Regions from separate parts of the Homo sapiens genome. Here regions 2, 3, 4 and 5 are each linked to region 1. Evidence: promoter capture Hi-C in 16 types of primary human blood cells and fetal thymus (Javierre and others, 2016). All regions are on one chromosome and are shown on one strand. Each heading gives the region's core, a stretch centred on a gene start or on the middle of the fragment in contact. The rest is flanking DNA. Distances are from core to core; before and after follow the strand shown. Region 1 holds the start of SLC75A1 (solute carrier family 75 member 1). Region 2 overlaps FAM193A (family with sequence similarity 193 member A). Region 3 overlaps SH3BP2 (SH3 domain binding protein 2). Region 4 overlaps FAM193A (family with sequence similarity 193 member A). Region 5 overlaps TNIP2 (TNFAIP3 interacting protein 2).

The links. The method cuts DNA at HindIII sites, captures the fragments that hold promoters and counts their contacts. A CHiCAGO score of 5 or more calls a contact.
Region 2: a fragment that was not itself captured here is called in contact with the fragment with the promoter of SLC75A1 in region 1 in 1 of 17 cell types (total B cells); the score reaches 6.1 in total B cells.
Region 3: a fragment that was not itself captured here is called in contact with the fragment with the promoter of SLC75A1 in region 1 in 3 of 17 cell types (non-activated CD4 T cells, endothelial precursors and activated CD4 T cells); the score reaches 5.4 in non-activated CD4 T cells.
Region 4: a contact is called between a fragment that was not itself captured here and the fragment with the promoter of SLC75A1 in region 1, in 2 of 17 cell types (endothelial precursors and total B cells). The highest score is 5.6, in endothelial precursors.
Region 5: a contact is called between a fragment that was not itself captured here and the fragment with the promoter of SLC75A1 in region 1, in 4 of 17 cell types (activated CD4 T cells, endothelial precursors, neutrophils and 1 more). The highest score is 7.0, in activated CD4 T cells.

The regions. Positions count from the first base shown.
Region 1 is chr4:2,933,540-2,936,239 of GRCh38, forward strand. SLC75A1 (solute carrier family 75 member 1) reads right to left here and starts at 1,286. Exons shown (of 13, transcript NM_001146069.2): 1 at 1,230-1,286; 2 at 214-405; 3 at 28-124. The coding sequence starts at 384. NOP14-AS1 (NOP14 antisense RNA 1) reads left to right here and starts at 2,007. Exons shown (of 4, transcript NR_015453.2): 1 at 2,007-2,700. RefSeq lists enhancers at 1-866, 2,124-2,700 and silencers at 707-926, 1,156-1,465, 1,626-1,735. The HindIII fragment of the contact is 5,918 bases long and covers 1-2,005 here.
Region 2 is chr4:2,699,624-2,702,323 of GRCh38, forward strand. FAM193A (family with sequence similarity 193 member A) reads left to right here. Exons shown (of 21, transcript NM_001366318.2): 19 at 57-921. Among named protein-coding and RNA genes, the nearest start is that of TNIP2, 55 kb to the right of the region's middle. The HindIII fragment of the contact is 8,988 bases long and covers 1-2,700 here.
Region 3 is chr4:2,802,804-2,805,503 of GRCh38, forward strand. The region is part of intron 1 of SH3BP2 (SH3 domain binding protein 2); the gene reads left to right. Among named protein-coding and RNA genes, the nearest start is that of SH3BP2, 11 kb to the left of the region's middle. The HindIII fragment of the contact is 8,498 bases long and covers 1-2,700 here.
Region 4 is chr4:2,731,127-2,733,826 of GRCh38, forward strand. It overlaps FAM193A (family with sequence similarity 193 member A), which reads left to right. Exons shown (of 21, transcript NM_001366318.2): 21 at 649-1,447. The coding sequence ends at 742. Among named protein-coding and RNA genes, the nearest start is that of TNIP2, 24 kb to the right of the region's middle. The HindIII fragment of the contact is 3,689 bases long and covers 1-2,700 here.
Region 5 is chr4:2,747,353-2,750,052 of GRCh38, forward strand. It overlaps TNIP2 (TNFAIP3 interacting protein 2), which reads right to left. Exons shown (of 6, transcript NM_024309.4): 2 at 303-593. Among named protein-coding and RNA genes, the nearest start is that of TNIP2, 7.6 kb to the right of the region's middle. RefSeq lists an enhancer at 436-485. The HindIII fragment of the contact is 3,160 bases long and covers 1-2,700 here.

The sequences.
Region 1 (2,700 bases), core at 36-2,535:
CCGCCAAGGGCACAGAGCCAGCCATACCTCCGAACAGGACACTGTTGTACCTCTTCTCCACTGGCATCCCGATGGCGGTGGCAAACCAGTCCACCCCGCCCTGCCAGGAGCCATAGAGGGGGTCCTAGGGGATGAGGAATCACGATAAGGGCTGGGGAGGTCTGATGGGCCTGGGGGGCAGGGGGCACTGTGGGCCGCAGGGCAAGGACTCACGTGGGCACGGCCGTGGCTCTCCAACAGCCCGGGCAGCAGGGGCAGCAGCAGCGTGAAGGCCAGGAGGTCCAGCAGGAGGCCGAGAAAGACAACGGTGACCACGCGGCGCTCCGGCGGCTGCTGGTGGATGGGTGGGCGCGGGGTGCAGCCTCCACCCCCTCCCCATCCCATGGTGGGCTGCTCTGACCTGGCCTGGGTGGGGTGCGGCGGGTCGGGTTAGCGGGGAAGCCGAGTCCTCCGGGGCCTGGCATACCCCCACACCCGACAGCCGGCGAGCACCCTAAAGGGGCTGATGGCAGGGGCTCTGGCCTACGGACGCAGGGGCCGTTCTGGCCTGCGCGATGCCCCCGCCCCGAACCCAGGCAGCAGGAAACGCAGGCTTCGGGGATTGCACAAAAAATAGCCGCAAAGGCAACGGTCCTGAGAGACCAGGGTGAGCACATCGCGGACCTGGCCCCACCCCACCCCACGGCCGCGCCTCCCACGCCCTCGTAACAGCGAGAGAAAACTTGAAGCCGCGGGGAACCCGGATCCCGATCCCGATCCCGATCCCGATCCCAACCCCAACCCCAGCCCCGGCCCGCGCCCCGCGATTCCGGCCCCTGGCCCGGACTCGGTCTCCCTGGCGGGGGCCATGGGGTGCACACCGGACGCAGGAGCACCCCCAACCCCGCGCGCCTCCCACTCCGCCATCCCGCGTGCGTCCCGGTCCCGCCCCCACCCCGCGCGCCCCCGGTCCCGCCCCCCACCCTGCGCGTCCCCGGTCCCGTCCCCCACCCTGCGCGCCCTCTAACCCCCACGCCGCGCGCCTCCCACCGCCCCCACCCCGCGCGCCCCTGGTCCAGCCCCACACCCCGCGCGCCCCCTACTCCCCTACCCTGCGCACCTCTCACCCGCCCCACCCCCGCGTACCCCGGGTCCCGTCTCCTCCCCCACCCCGCGCGTCCCCTGTCCCACCCCCAACCCGAGCGCCCCCTACGCCCCCCACCCCGGGCGCCCCCGGTCCCGCCCCGCACCTGCCGCGGCTGCGCGCTCGGGACGGACGGTCGCACAGACGCGGAACAGGGCACCAGGCACGCCGCCAGGGGCGGGACGGCCACGCCCGGCCACGCCACGCCCCGGAAGTGACGTACATCTCTGCACGTTCTCTTCCGGCCGGAGTCAGTGGCGGGGTTCTCGCCGGTCCTGCGGGTCGCTGCTTGGCTGTGGGTTAGCAGCACCCTGAGCGGAGCGGAAGAGCTGCCCGCCGCCGCGTAACCCCGAGGCCGAGACTCCTGGCCTGGCCTCCTTGGGCCCACGACGCCTGCCCCGCGGAGCGGACCCATGGGCCTGAGGTTTGTGTGCGGGGCCTCAGGCGAGCGCTGGCGCAGCCTGTCCCCCATCGTCTGCGCCCTGCGGGCCTGGCCCTCCCCGTGGAAGGACCGCGGGCTTCGGGGCCCCACGCTGGGGGGCTGACTCCTGCCACACACACAGCGGTGGCCGCGGGCCTGGGGCGGCAGCACAGCCATTCTGCTCGGGCTGCGTGAGCTGACCCCGCTCTCTGTGCACCTACTTTTGCTGCGTTTGGTGCTGAGCCTGAAGTCCCAGGACAGGCGGCTGAGGGGGAAAGATGGTGTGAATTGGGTGGGCAGAGACAACTGAAAGCCACAGGACCCGGTTGGCACCTTTTTGGCCGCCTGCGCCTTTGCCTGCAGCCCCGCTCCCTGGGTCACCCGAAGGAGGAGCTGGCGCTCTTTCCGGGCGCAGAAGCACCCGACCCACGCTGGAGGAAACGGTCCCTCTGGGCAGGAGAAGCTTTGGGCCTGGCTGGAGCACACTCACGGAACCACGCCAACGCCTGGCCTGTAGCCAGCTCCCACCTCCCCTCCCACCTTCTAAAATGCTTGCGGATCTCACGTGGCCGACCCTAACCAGATACACATGGGGAAAGGAATCAGGTGGCACACATACCGCCTTTACTCCATAGAGAACTTCCAATTGTGGGTAAGAACAAAGCCCCACCTCTTCCTAATAGATGCAGTTTTCCACCTGCAGCCAAAAAGACAACCTGTTATTAGCTTTTTTCCCAGAGGACAGGCATCTCTATGAAACTGCCATTGCAAAATTTGCCGACAGTGAGATAACCAGCTCCATTTTGCTTCTAACCTCCATGCCCTCCTTGTTTACTGCTGCACGCAGGTTGAACTGTGGGAGGAACTTAGTTTAAAACAAAGATGATAACAGCCCTTTCCCAAAGGAAACCTTTCCTGGGGATTAGCCTGCTTTTGTGGGACCAACAGATTAGCCACAAGATTAGAAACTACGGTTGAAGAGTCACGCAGCGGGAGGCTACAGGATTCTGACCCTCCCCAAACTGCTCCTGGCGATAACATCACCATCGTAAAGCCTAAGATCAGCACTTGGTGGGTCACCTGGCACCACCCAGGCTCATCTGATGTTGTGGCACCCAGGAACTGACTCAGTGCGAAAACAGCTTCGACTCCCTGT
Region 2 (2,700 bases), core at 30-2,529, 230 kb before region 1:
GACTTAATTTTTAGCACTCACTGTAGTCTTAAATTGCCTTCTTTTTGCATTGGCAGCTGGAGGAGAAAGCTCGCCTAGAAGCAGAGGCCAGGGCCCGGGAGCACCTGCACCTCCAGGAGGAGCAGAGGCGGCGGGAGGAGGAGGAGGATGAGGAAGAAGAGGAGGATCGTTTCAAGGAGGAATTTCAGCGGCTTCAGGAGCTTCAGAAGCTAAGAGCTGTAAAAAAGAAGAAGAAGGAGAGGCCAAGTAAAGACTGCCCCAAGTTGGACATGCTCACTAGAAATTTCCAGGCAGCAACAGAGTCTGTTCCTAACTCTGGAAACATCCACAATGGCTCACTAGAGCAAACTGAAGAACCAGAAACCTCTTCTCACTCCCCATCCAGGCATATGAACCACTCAGAGCCCAGGCCAGGGCTAGGGGCTGATGGGGATGCTGCAGACCCCGTCGACACCAGAGACTCCAAATTTCTCCTCCCCAAGGAGGTGAATGGGAAGCAGCATGAGCCACTCTCTTTTTTCTTCGACATCATGCAGCACCATAAAGAAGGAAATGGCAAGCAGAAGCTGAGGCAGACCAGCAAGGCCAGCAGCGAGCCAGCGAGGAGGCCCACAGAGCCCCCCAAGGCCACAGAGGGGCAGTCCAAGCCCCGGGCCCAGACTGAGTCAAAGGCTAAGGTGGTCGACCTCATGTCCATCACAGAGCAGAAAAGAGAGGAGAGAAAAGTCAACAGTAATAACAATAACAAAAAGCAGCTGAACCACATCAAGGACGAAAAGTCAAACCCAACCCCTATGGAGCCCACCTCTCCCGGTGAGCATCAGCAGAACAGCAAGCTGGTGCTGGCAGAGTCCCCTCAGCCAAAGGGCAAGAACAAGAAAAATAAGAAGAAGAAAGGAGACAGAGTCAACAATTCAATTGGTAAATACAGAATAGCGGGAAGGTATTTCTGAGCGATGCCTGGTTTTCCATGTGTGATGTGCTAGTATAGGAAAACACTGGGTTTGGCATGCTCTCGCCATGTGGCCTCCCTCCTGTAGAAAAGAGCGTAGAGGGGCCAGGCATGGTGGCTCACACCTGTAATCCCAGCACTTTGTGAGGCCAGGGTGGGCAGATCACCAGAGGTTAAGAGTTCGAGACCAGCTTGGCCAACATGCTGAAACCCTGTCTCTACTAAAAATAACAAAAAAAAATTAGCTGGGCTTGGTGGTGCACCTGTAATCCTAGCTACTCGGGGAGGCTGAGGCAGGAGAATCGCTTGAACCCAGGAGGCAGAGATTGCAGTGAGCCAAGATCATGCCGTTGCACTCCAGCGTGGGTGACAGAGAGACTCCATCTCAAAAAATACATATAGAGAGAGAGAGGATTTCTACCCCCTCCAGTTCCCCAACTTTAGTTCCCCAACATCAGTATTTCCCATGTTTGCTTCGTTATTCTCTCTCTCCCTCTCTCTCTTATTTTTCTGGACAGAAGGAGAGTCACTTCATACATGATACCCCTTTAACCTAAAATACTTCCATGTATATTTCCTCAAGATAAAGACACTTATAAAACCACAGTACAGTGATCAAAATGAAGAAGTTGACACTGATCCAATGCTATTCTCTAATTGTAGACCTTACTCATGTTTCTCCAATTGTCCTTTTAACATCCTTTATAGCAAAAAAAAAAAAAAAAAGCTCTTGTTGTTTCTCCTGACATGGGATCCAATCCAGGATCCCATGTCGTATCTCTTTAATTTCCTTTCCTTTGGATCGGTTTCTCTGTTTTTCATGACCTTTACTTTTTTGAAGAGTGCAGCGCATTTATTTTTTAGAGGATCCCTTGGTCAGGGTGCATGCCCCATGTCTTCCCAGTCAGGTTCAGATACCATGTTTTGGCGGCAACACCACTGATGTGGCCAGTCCCTGTTGGTATATCCCACCAGGAAGTGGGTGACGGTGTCTGTCCCATCACTGGGGATGGGAACTCTGATCCTGGGTTGAGCTGGTCTGCCCATTTTCACTACGGTCAAGTTAATATTTCTCCTTTGCTAATTAGTAAGTGTCTTATGGGGAAATGAGTATCCTGTTTTTATTGAACATTCACCGACTAGTTGTAGCATCCATTAATGATTCTTGCCGGAAATGTTTATTACTGTGTTGTCATATGGTGATTTTTTTTTTTTTTTGAGATGGAGTTTCGCTCTTGTTGTCCAGGCTGGAGTGCAGTGGCACGATCTCAGCTCACCACAACCTCCGCTTCCCGGGTTCAAGCGATTCTCCTGCCTCAGCCTCTCAAGTAGCTGGGATTACAGGCATGCACCACCACACCCGGCTAATTTTGTGTAGTAGAGATGGGATTTCACCTTGTTGGTCAGGCTGGTCTCAAACTCCCGACCTCAGTTGATCCGCCTGCCTCAGCCTCCCAAAGTGCTGGGATTACAGGCGTGAGCTGCCACCCCTGGCCCAAATGGTGAATTTTCTAATATTATTCTTTCTATATTTGTTACTTGCCATTCAACTGTAGGAAGAGCTTTCCAACCTCATGTGTTTTTTTCATTCACTTAGTTATATCAGGATAGATCCACGAAGTTTTACTTGATGCTATAGATGAGAATCTTTTACGAACACTCTTTATGTTGCTGTTTTGATTGTCTGAGATTCGGTCAGTGGGAGCCCCCTCGGAATGGCTTTTTCCTTAGACCATTTGATGCGGCCC
Region 3 (2,700 bases), core at 149-2,648, 130 kb before region 1:
ACAGAGGGAAGGGACCCTGTTGTGCTGACTCAGCCTTGGTGGGTCCCAGCCTGTGGCACCCGCTGACAGATGGTGACAGGGTTCCTGGGTAAGCGAGGGGCCCAAGGACCCTCAGTGGTGCACAGAGGAGCCATGATGGGGGCCACGCCTGGGCCCCAGCGTCCTTTGCCCTGACCCAGGAGCTTGTCCAGATAAAACGCCGTAAAGTGCCTGGGCTGAGCCCGAGGTGTGTGCAGGAGCTGCATGGTTTTGTGCGGTCCAAGGGAGGCCGCCAAGACCGCCACGGTACGAAAAGTACCACGGTGATGAGTGAAAGGGACAGGCGGCGCAGGGCTCTCAGGCCACTTACTGCTATACGGTCCCAAGGCCCACCCTGTAGGGCTTACACAGCTGCCTACACAGGGTGCCCATCGTGGTGGCTCCTGACCTCTGCCGTTGGCTCTGGGTGGGAGCAGTGGGGCTGGGTTTCTCTGACTGGCGCCCCTACTGCATGCCACCCCAGCAGGAGCCCCAGGGCCTCGGCATCTCCACTCTGTTCCCTTGTTATCTCGCCCTGGTGCTGGGATCCGGGATAAGCAGGGTGCTGTCCACTTCCAGGGCCTAGGGACCCAGTGCTGGGCCAAGTGCCTATGGCAGAGTGCTTGGGAGCTGTCTGGTTTGGTCCTCAGAGTCCTGTTGCTAATAAGCGTGGAGGGGGAGGACGGAGCAAGGCTCAGGGAGTGAAGTGACTTGCCCCTAGTCTCCAGCTTAAGGGACCAAGGCTGGGACTGGAGCCCAGGCGTGAATGGTGCCCAGGAGCTCATCCCAGGGAAGGTCTGAGATGCTGTCTGCCTCACCTGGGCATGTGGCCTGGACTGGCAGTTCTAACTAAGACCCACCTCTGTCTCTCATGTCAGAAGGTGGGTGCCTTCTCTTACCTGCAACCCCAGGGCCTTTGCACAAGCTATGCTCTGTCTGACTCTATGTAATCCCATGCTTGGCTAACTCATGTGGAAGATTGCTCCCAGGACGCTGGCGGATGTGTCAACGTGTCTGGGTGGAACAGATGTCACAAGGATGTGAGTCAGAGGTGGCTGCCTCCCTAACAGATTGGGAGCCCAGACAGAGGGTGACAGTAGCTTGGATCCCGGGTGCAGGGTGTGGCGTTTGCCTGTAGGTGCTGTGCCTGAGTGCCTCCCCTGTGCCCGATACCATGAGACTTCAGGCCGAGTGGAGTGACACTGTGCAAGAGAGACAGGGTCCGGCTGACCAGCCTCACCATGACTCCAGCCGAGCCCACTGAATAGGTGGGCTACCTTCCACCATTCCCTGGCCTCGGTTTCCTGCTCTCGGTTTCCTCAGCTGCCTGGTGGGTTCCACTGCAACTCTCTGGGGGTCTCCTTCTGTCCCGGCACCGCCTGCTCCTGTTCCTCATCCGAGTCTCTGCGGATGCGTGGACCCCGCCCTCTGTGCAGCCTCAGCACTAAGTCCTGGGTCCAGCAGCTCCGGGACTGCCCCAGTTACTCCTGGGGAAACTGAGGACTGGAGCTCTGCTTCTTTGCCCGAGTTTTCTCTAGGGTGAGCACCAGACCACTCTTTCTTCAAGGGAACCAGCAGCATTGAGCGGGACCCAAAAGGGGGCTGTGGCCTGGGAGAGCTTCCCAACCAGCCTCCCCAGGGGCTCTTGGGATCAGTTTAAAACAGAAGCAGCTCCTAACTCCTCAAGGGTGGGCTGGAGCCCCTGCTTCCCCAGGCCTTCCTGTCCTGCTGAGCTGGGCCCTGCGGTAGCTTCCTCCCTGTACCCCACATGGCGTGGCCCACCCTGTGTCCCCTGGCCTCCTACCCAGAGCCCTGCCCCCTCCACAGAGGCCAGGGCCCACCCCCACTGTCCTTAAGGTTGGTGGGCTTCCTTCTGAGAGTGGGCCTGGGGTTTCTCCTCTCCTTCTTACCCACCCCAGAGCCAGGCTCAGCAGGAAATGCCTGGTAGGGGCCCTGCCAGGGCCATAAGGCTTTCAGGGCACCCTCAGGTTGTGTTGTAGGGGTGGGCCAGGTGGCCCCAGGCTCTGGGTGACACTAGCCACGCTGGCTGGGTAGCCAAGCGTTGCAGCTCACTCAGCCTCGAGGTCCTAATCGGGAGAACAAAACGAGCAGTTGGCGATGGAGCGGGCACAGAGCTGGCGCACTCAGAACACAGTGGACATTTCCTTGGGGGCTCCCTGCCCCTCCCTTGGTCCAGCAGCCTAGCCCTCCTATCACAAGAGGTGACTGTGGGCAGGGAAGCACCCCCAACCTTCACACCCACTGTGCCCGTGGCCCAGGCGTCCCACGCATCCCAGGAGGGTCTGGTTGGCGGGAGCCCTCTGCTTCTGCTTCCTCTAGATGAGGAAGGTGCCCGGCAGATTTCCTACCTAAGCACACCCCCTGGGCCCGGAGGGTCAGCAGCCAGGCTGGTGTGGGCGTGGGGTGTCCCGGCCACAGCTGATCTGCTCAGTGACTGCTGCTGCCCTTGCCTATCGATGAGGATGCTGGGGCCGGGAGGTCACCCTGGAGGCCCAGGCTGCGCTTGGTGGGTGCAGAGCCCCTGGAGTGCCCCCCTCCTGCAGCCAGGGGTCCCCCGAGATGGAAGAAGTGGGGTGCCTGGGGCTGGCCAGATGGTGTAATTCAGCACATGAGCCCATGAGCTAGGCCCCACGGAGAGTAGGGGTTCCAGCCAGCTGGGGT
Region 4 (2,700 bases), core at 172-2,671, 200 kb before region 1:
CGGAGGCTTCAGTGAGCTGAGATTGTGCCATTGCACTCTAGCCTGGATGACAAGAGCGAAACTCCTTCTCAAAAAAAAAAAAAAAAAAAAAAAAAAAACCGGTGTGGTGGTACATGCCTGTAGTCCTAGCTACTTGGGAGGCTGAGGCAGAGAATTGCTTGAACCTTGGAGGTGGAGGTTGCAGTGAGCCGAAACTGCCACTGAACTCCAGCCTGGGCAAGAGAGTGAGACCCTGTCTCAAAAAAAAAAGGATTTCACCATGTTGCCCAGGCTGGTCTCGAACTCCTAAGTTGAAGTGATTTGCCCTCCTCAGCCTCCCAAAGTGCTGGGATTACAGGTATGAGCCACCACACCCTGCCTGGGCCTGATAATTTAAGGGCGCTCACAGCTCTCAGATTAAACGTTTCTTTTCTTTCTCAGGACTCCTTCCGCCCACCCATTCCTCCTCCCGAGTCCTTTCCCCTTCTCAAGTGCAGCCTGTAGCAGGGCCTGGAGGGGACCCTTGACACTGTGCCCCTCACCGAGAATCTAAACCCCTGACCCCGCAGTGAGTTTCTGGCAAGAACAGGAGTGTGATGGGCTTTGCCAAGCACCAGCTTGGTTGTGGGCTGTTTCCTTCAGTGACTGTTTGGCTTTTTGTCTTTGCAGGTTCTGCTTGGATTCTGCTAGACAGACCCGACAAAGACTGTCTATCAACTGGTCCAATTTTAGCTTGAAAAAAGCCACCTTTGCTGCCCACTGAATGAGGACTCCCTGGAGAGGGACACGCGAGAGGCAGGCCAGGCTGCACCACCCCAAGAGCCACGCCCCTCGCTGGCGCCCCAGAGCCGTGGTGCTTGCCAAGGGCTGTGCGGAGCTGGTGCTGCCTGAAACCCCAGACCGAGAAGTTGATGCTCGGCCCACGCCGTTAGCTCGTGTGCGTGTAGTCTGTGCGTGAGACTCCTTCGATTGTAGCTCTGTGCTGTCGGATTGGAACAGTAGTTCCCGCCAAGTCCTCCCACCACCGCGGCCTCGGAGGCCTGGGCCGTGGCCAGATAGGAGTTTGCATCATCCACGTGGCTCCGTTGCCTCTGCATTGCGCCCTGTCCTGTCATGTGTCCTCACCGGGGTATCGGCCGTCACTCAGCTCTCCTGTGCCCCTGCGTCTCACCCTAGGCGGGCTGGGCGGGGCAGGCCTCCTTTGTTCTCCACAATCTACTGTCTCCGAGTGTACACGTTGCGCTGTTTGTGTTTGATCCCCCTGACTTGTAGCCAGCTTGTGTAAGATCCCTTGCAGAACGAGAAAGTTAAAAACAAGCCCACCCAGTACTCACACCATCAAGTCTGTTATAGAGTGTACGACTGTATTAACACGGAGGCCTGCCTGGCTACTTTTTTAACATATTGTTAAGTAATATTAAAATCATGTCTTTCTTTTTGAAAGATGGAATACATTAGTACAGCAGGAGACCTCGGCTGCTTCTTTCTGCTGGGGGAGTGGGGGGATAGCGGGAGAGGGCGTGTAGGTGATGTGTCCGCCATGGGGAGCCAGGGCACCACCCCGGAGCAGGTCCCAGGTCTCTCCAGGCAACGGCTCACCCATCCTGGTGCCCCCACCATCCTCTGTGTGCCAGGCAGAGCAGGCAGCAGGAGACAGAAAGCTCCCAAGGAGCTGCATCCTGGTTACTTCTTACTACCTAGAACACTCAGTAGCTCCCACTTCTCCCAGCCTCATGTTCAGCCTGTCTCTGTGTGCCCTATCAGAGTATGACTTCACTCTGAGTGAAGGTGAATAGGGCAGGGCCTGGTTGGGGAGAGGGTAGGGAGAGCCAGCTTCTGGAGGTATTCGGACGATGAGGCCACAGGATTTCCTGGTGGACAGGATGCAGGTAGGAGAAAGAGGTGAAGACCTGCGCTGTGTGCCTGGAGGTGGGACTGGAGACCAGTTCTGGATGGTGAGTCTGGGATGTCCACCGGCCACCCAGGTGAGAGGTCTGGAACTGGGGACTGCTGTTCATGGACAGAGCCTGTGTGAGGGCCCTGCAGGGGTGAGTAGATGGGATGGGGGCCCGAGCTGTGGAACCAGGAAGGCAGAGGAGGGTGAGGAGGCTTCGAGGCAGGTCAGGGGAGACAAGGCCCAGGGCACCCCCACCCAGGCACCGGTTTGCAGGAGAATGAGGTGGGGACAGCAGGTCCTAGAACTCTGGAGATTGCACGAAAGCTGGAAAAGGGTCACCAACCAGGGGAGGTGCAGCACGACGAACTTTCCTCACTTGTTTTTTTTTCCAGGTGTGAGGAAGAGAACGTTCCTTTGTTCGTGGGATGATAGGGCAGAGAGTGAAGCAGGTCAGGCCATGACCACGGCAACAGTAGTGTCCTTGAAACCCCAGTGCAGGCCCCCGGGACTCCAGCCGCTGCCTCTTCTGGCTGCGGTGGTGGCTGGGGAAAGGCCCAGGCCCGGGCCTCGCCCTATGGGGAAGCTGCCTGCCCAGGCCCCCAGTACCTGCCCTGCTCTCCCCATGGACAGCCTTTAACACTGTGCTGAACCATGCCTGTTGCTGAGGGGAACTGCACAGCCCTGAGTGGTGATGGGGAACTCTGGGTGCCCCGACACACTAAGCATCATGCTGGGACCTAGAGACCCTCAGACGCCCACCGCACATGCCCAGTTCTGGGCACTCCCATCACCTCCATGGCAACCCTGCCTGCGGCTTCACAGCT
Region 5 (2,700 bases), core at 77-2,576, 190 kb before region 1:
TCCTCCTCATCCTCAGCTGAGGCAGATGAAAGCCAAGTGCCATCTCCCACCTGGGAGCGGGGTCGGCCACAGGCCTGGTGCTGGGCAGTGAGGTGGCTGCCTGCTTTCCTATTACATTTTGCATGTTCCATCATTTTAAAAGAAACCCTTGGATGAGTGAGCTTTGCCCCGTCAGCTGACTCTCGTTACTGAGAACAGAAGTGGGTTCTGGGGCGCCCCCCCACCTCTGTGATCAGGGGCCTGTAGGCGATGCTCCCAGCACACAGAGGTCTTCCCCACACTCTGCTTACACTGTGGCCTACCTGGTCAGGACTTCTCTCCCCCACATTCCTTTGTGCATGCTGTCGTTCATCCAGACACTTGGCCAGATGCTGACACATGTGGGCGGTGGCGGTCAGCGTCCTCCGCAGCTGATGGGTCTCGTTGGCCAAGGAGCGGCACAGGACGTCACTGGCGGCCCGGGCGCGCTCCCCTTCTGCCATGCTCCTCCGTAGCAGGACGACTTCCTTCTCTCGCTCGTGTTGGGGCTGGCTCAGCAGCTGCTGCATCTCCCTCTCTTTTTCTTCTAGTCGCTCAGTCAGCCTCTCAATTTCCTAAGTGGAAGATTTAAAAGCACAGTTTACTGAATTAAAAGAAGCAGTGTCAAGAGCAAATGTTCAGAAAGCAAAAGAAGACCTGGCGTGGATGCCCCATCACCAGACACAAACATACTCACTCAGAAGTTGGGCGTTTGAACTAACAATTACTCACTCAGAAGTTGGGCATTTGAACTATTAACTCTGGAGTTTTTCAGCCTACAATGTTCTGTTCTGAAACTTCATCTCAAATTTTTTTTTTTTTTGAGACAGAGTTTCACTCTGTTGCCCAGGCTGGAGTGCAATGGCACAATCTTGGCTCGCTGCAACCTCCACCTCCCAGGTTCAAGCGATTCTCCCACCTCAGCCTCCTCAGTAGCTGGGATTATAGAGCCCACCACCAAGCCCAGCTAAAAGAATTTTTTTTTTTTTTGAGACGGAGTCTCGCTCTGTCGCTCAGGCTCGAGTGCAGTGGAGCGATCTCAGCTCACTGCAAGCTCCGCCTCAGAGGTTCACACCATTCTCCTGCCTCAGCCTTCCGAGTAGCTGGGACTACAGGCACACGCCACCACGCCCAGCTAATTTTTTGTATTTTTAGTAGAGATGGGGTTTCACCATGTTAGCCAGGATGGTCTCGATCTCCTGACCTCATGATCCGCCTACCTCGGCATCCGCCCACCTCAGCCTCCCAAAGTGCTGGGATTACAGGCGTGAGCCACCACGCCTGGCCCAATTTTTATATTTTTAGTAGAGACGGGGTTTCACCATGTTGGCCAGGCTAATCTCGAATTCCTGACCTTAGATGATCCGCCAGCCTTGGCCTCCCAAAGTACTGGGATTATAGGCGTGAGCCACTGCGCCCAGCAATTTTTTTTTTTTTTTTTTTGAGGCAGGGTCTCACTGTCACCCAGGCTAGAGTGCAGTGGCACAATCATGGCTCACTGCAGCCTCGACCTCCCCAGGCCCAAGCGATTCTCCATCCTAACCTGAGTAGCTGGGACTACAGGCACGTGCCACCGTGCCTGGTTAACTTTTTTGTATTTTGTAGAGACAGGGTTTTGCTGTGATGCTCAGGCTGGTCTTGAACTCCTGGGCTCAAGAGATCCACCCGCCTTGGCTTCCCAAAGTGCTGGGATGACAGGTGTGAGCCACCACGCCCTGCCAAATTCTATTTTCACAAGCAAGTTCATAATTTTAGATTTCATATCATCAAAATGTTTTTTTGAGATGAGGGTTTCGCTATATATAGCCCAAGCTGGTCTTAAACTCCTAGGCTCAAGCAAATCCTCCCACCTCAGCCTCCTGAATAGCTGGGACTACAGGCTCAAGCCACCACACCCAGTTATCATCAAATTATCAAAGTGGCAATTCCAAGCACTTTTTTGATGGGATAGGTAGAAACTCCACTGTGGTGGGTAACCCCAAAAAGATGTCCACAACCAAACCTCCCATTCCCCGGTATCTGGGAATGAAACCTTACTTAGAGATAGGGTCTTTGCAGATGTAATTAGTTAAGGTGGGGACAAAATGGATTAGGACGGGACTGGTGTCCTTGTAAGCAGACAGAAGTCTGGACAGACACACAGAGAGAAGACGACCACGTGACAACAAAGATAGGAGTGACGTCTTGTCTTGTGGATAAAGGCCAAGGAACACCAAGGATTGGTGGCCCCCACAGGAAGCTGAAGAGGCGAGGAAGGGTCCTTCCCTAGAACCTTGAGAGAGAGCCGATGCCTTGGTTTCTGGCTTCTGGCCTCTAGAACTGTGAAAGATTAAATTTCTGTTGCTTGAAGCCCCCCAGTTTGTGTTACTTTGTTACAGCAGCTCTAGGAAATTAACACACCCAACCCCAATTACTTCTTAAAGAATTTAAAAAGGTTCTTAAAATGACAATTTTATTTTGAGATAGGGTCTCGCCCTGTCACCCAGGCTGGAGTACAGTGGTGCCACCATGGTTCACTGTAGCCTCCACCTCCCAGACTCAAGTGATCCTCTTGCCTCAGCACCCTAAGTAGTTGGATTACAAGTGCATGCCACCGTACCTGGCTAATTTCTGTATTTTTTGCAGAGACAAGGTTTCACCACTTTGCCCAGTCTGGTCCTGGACTTGAGTGATCCGCCTGCC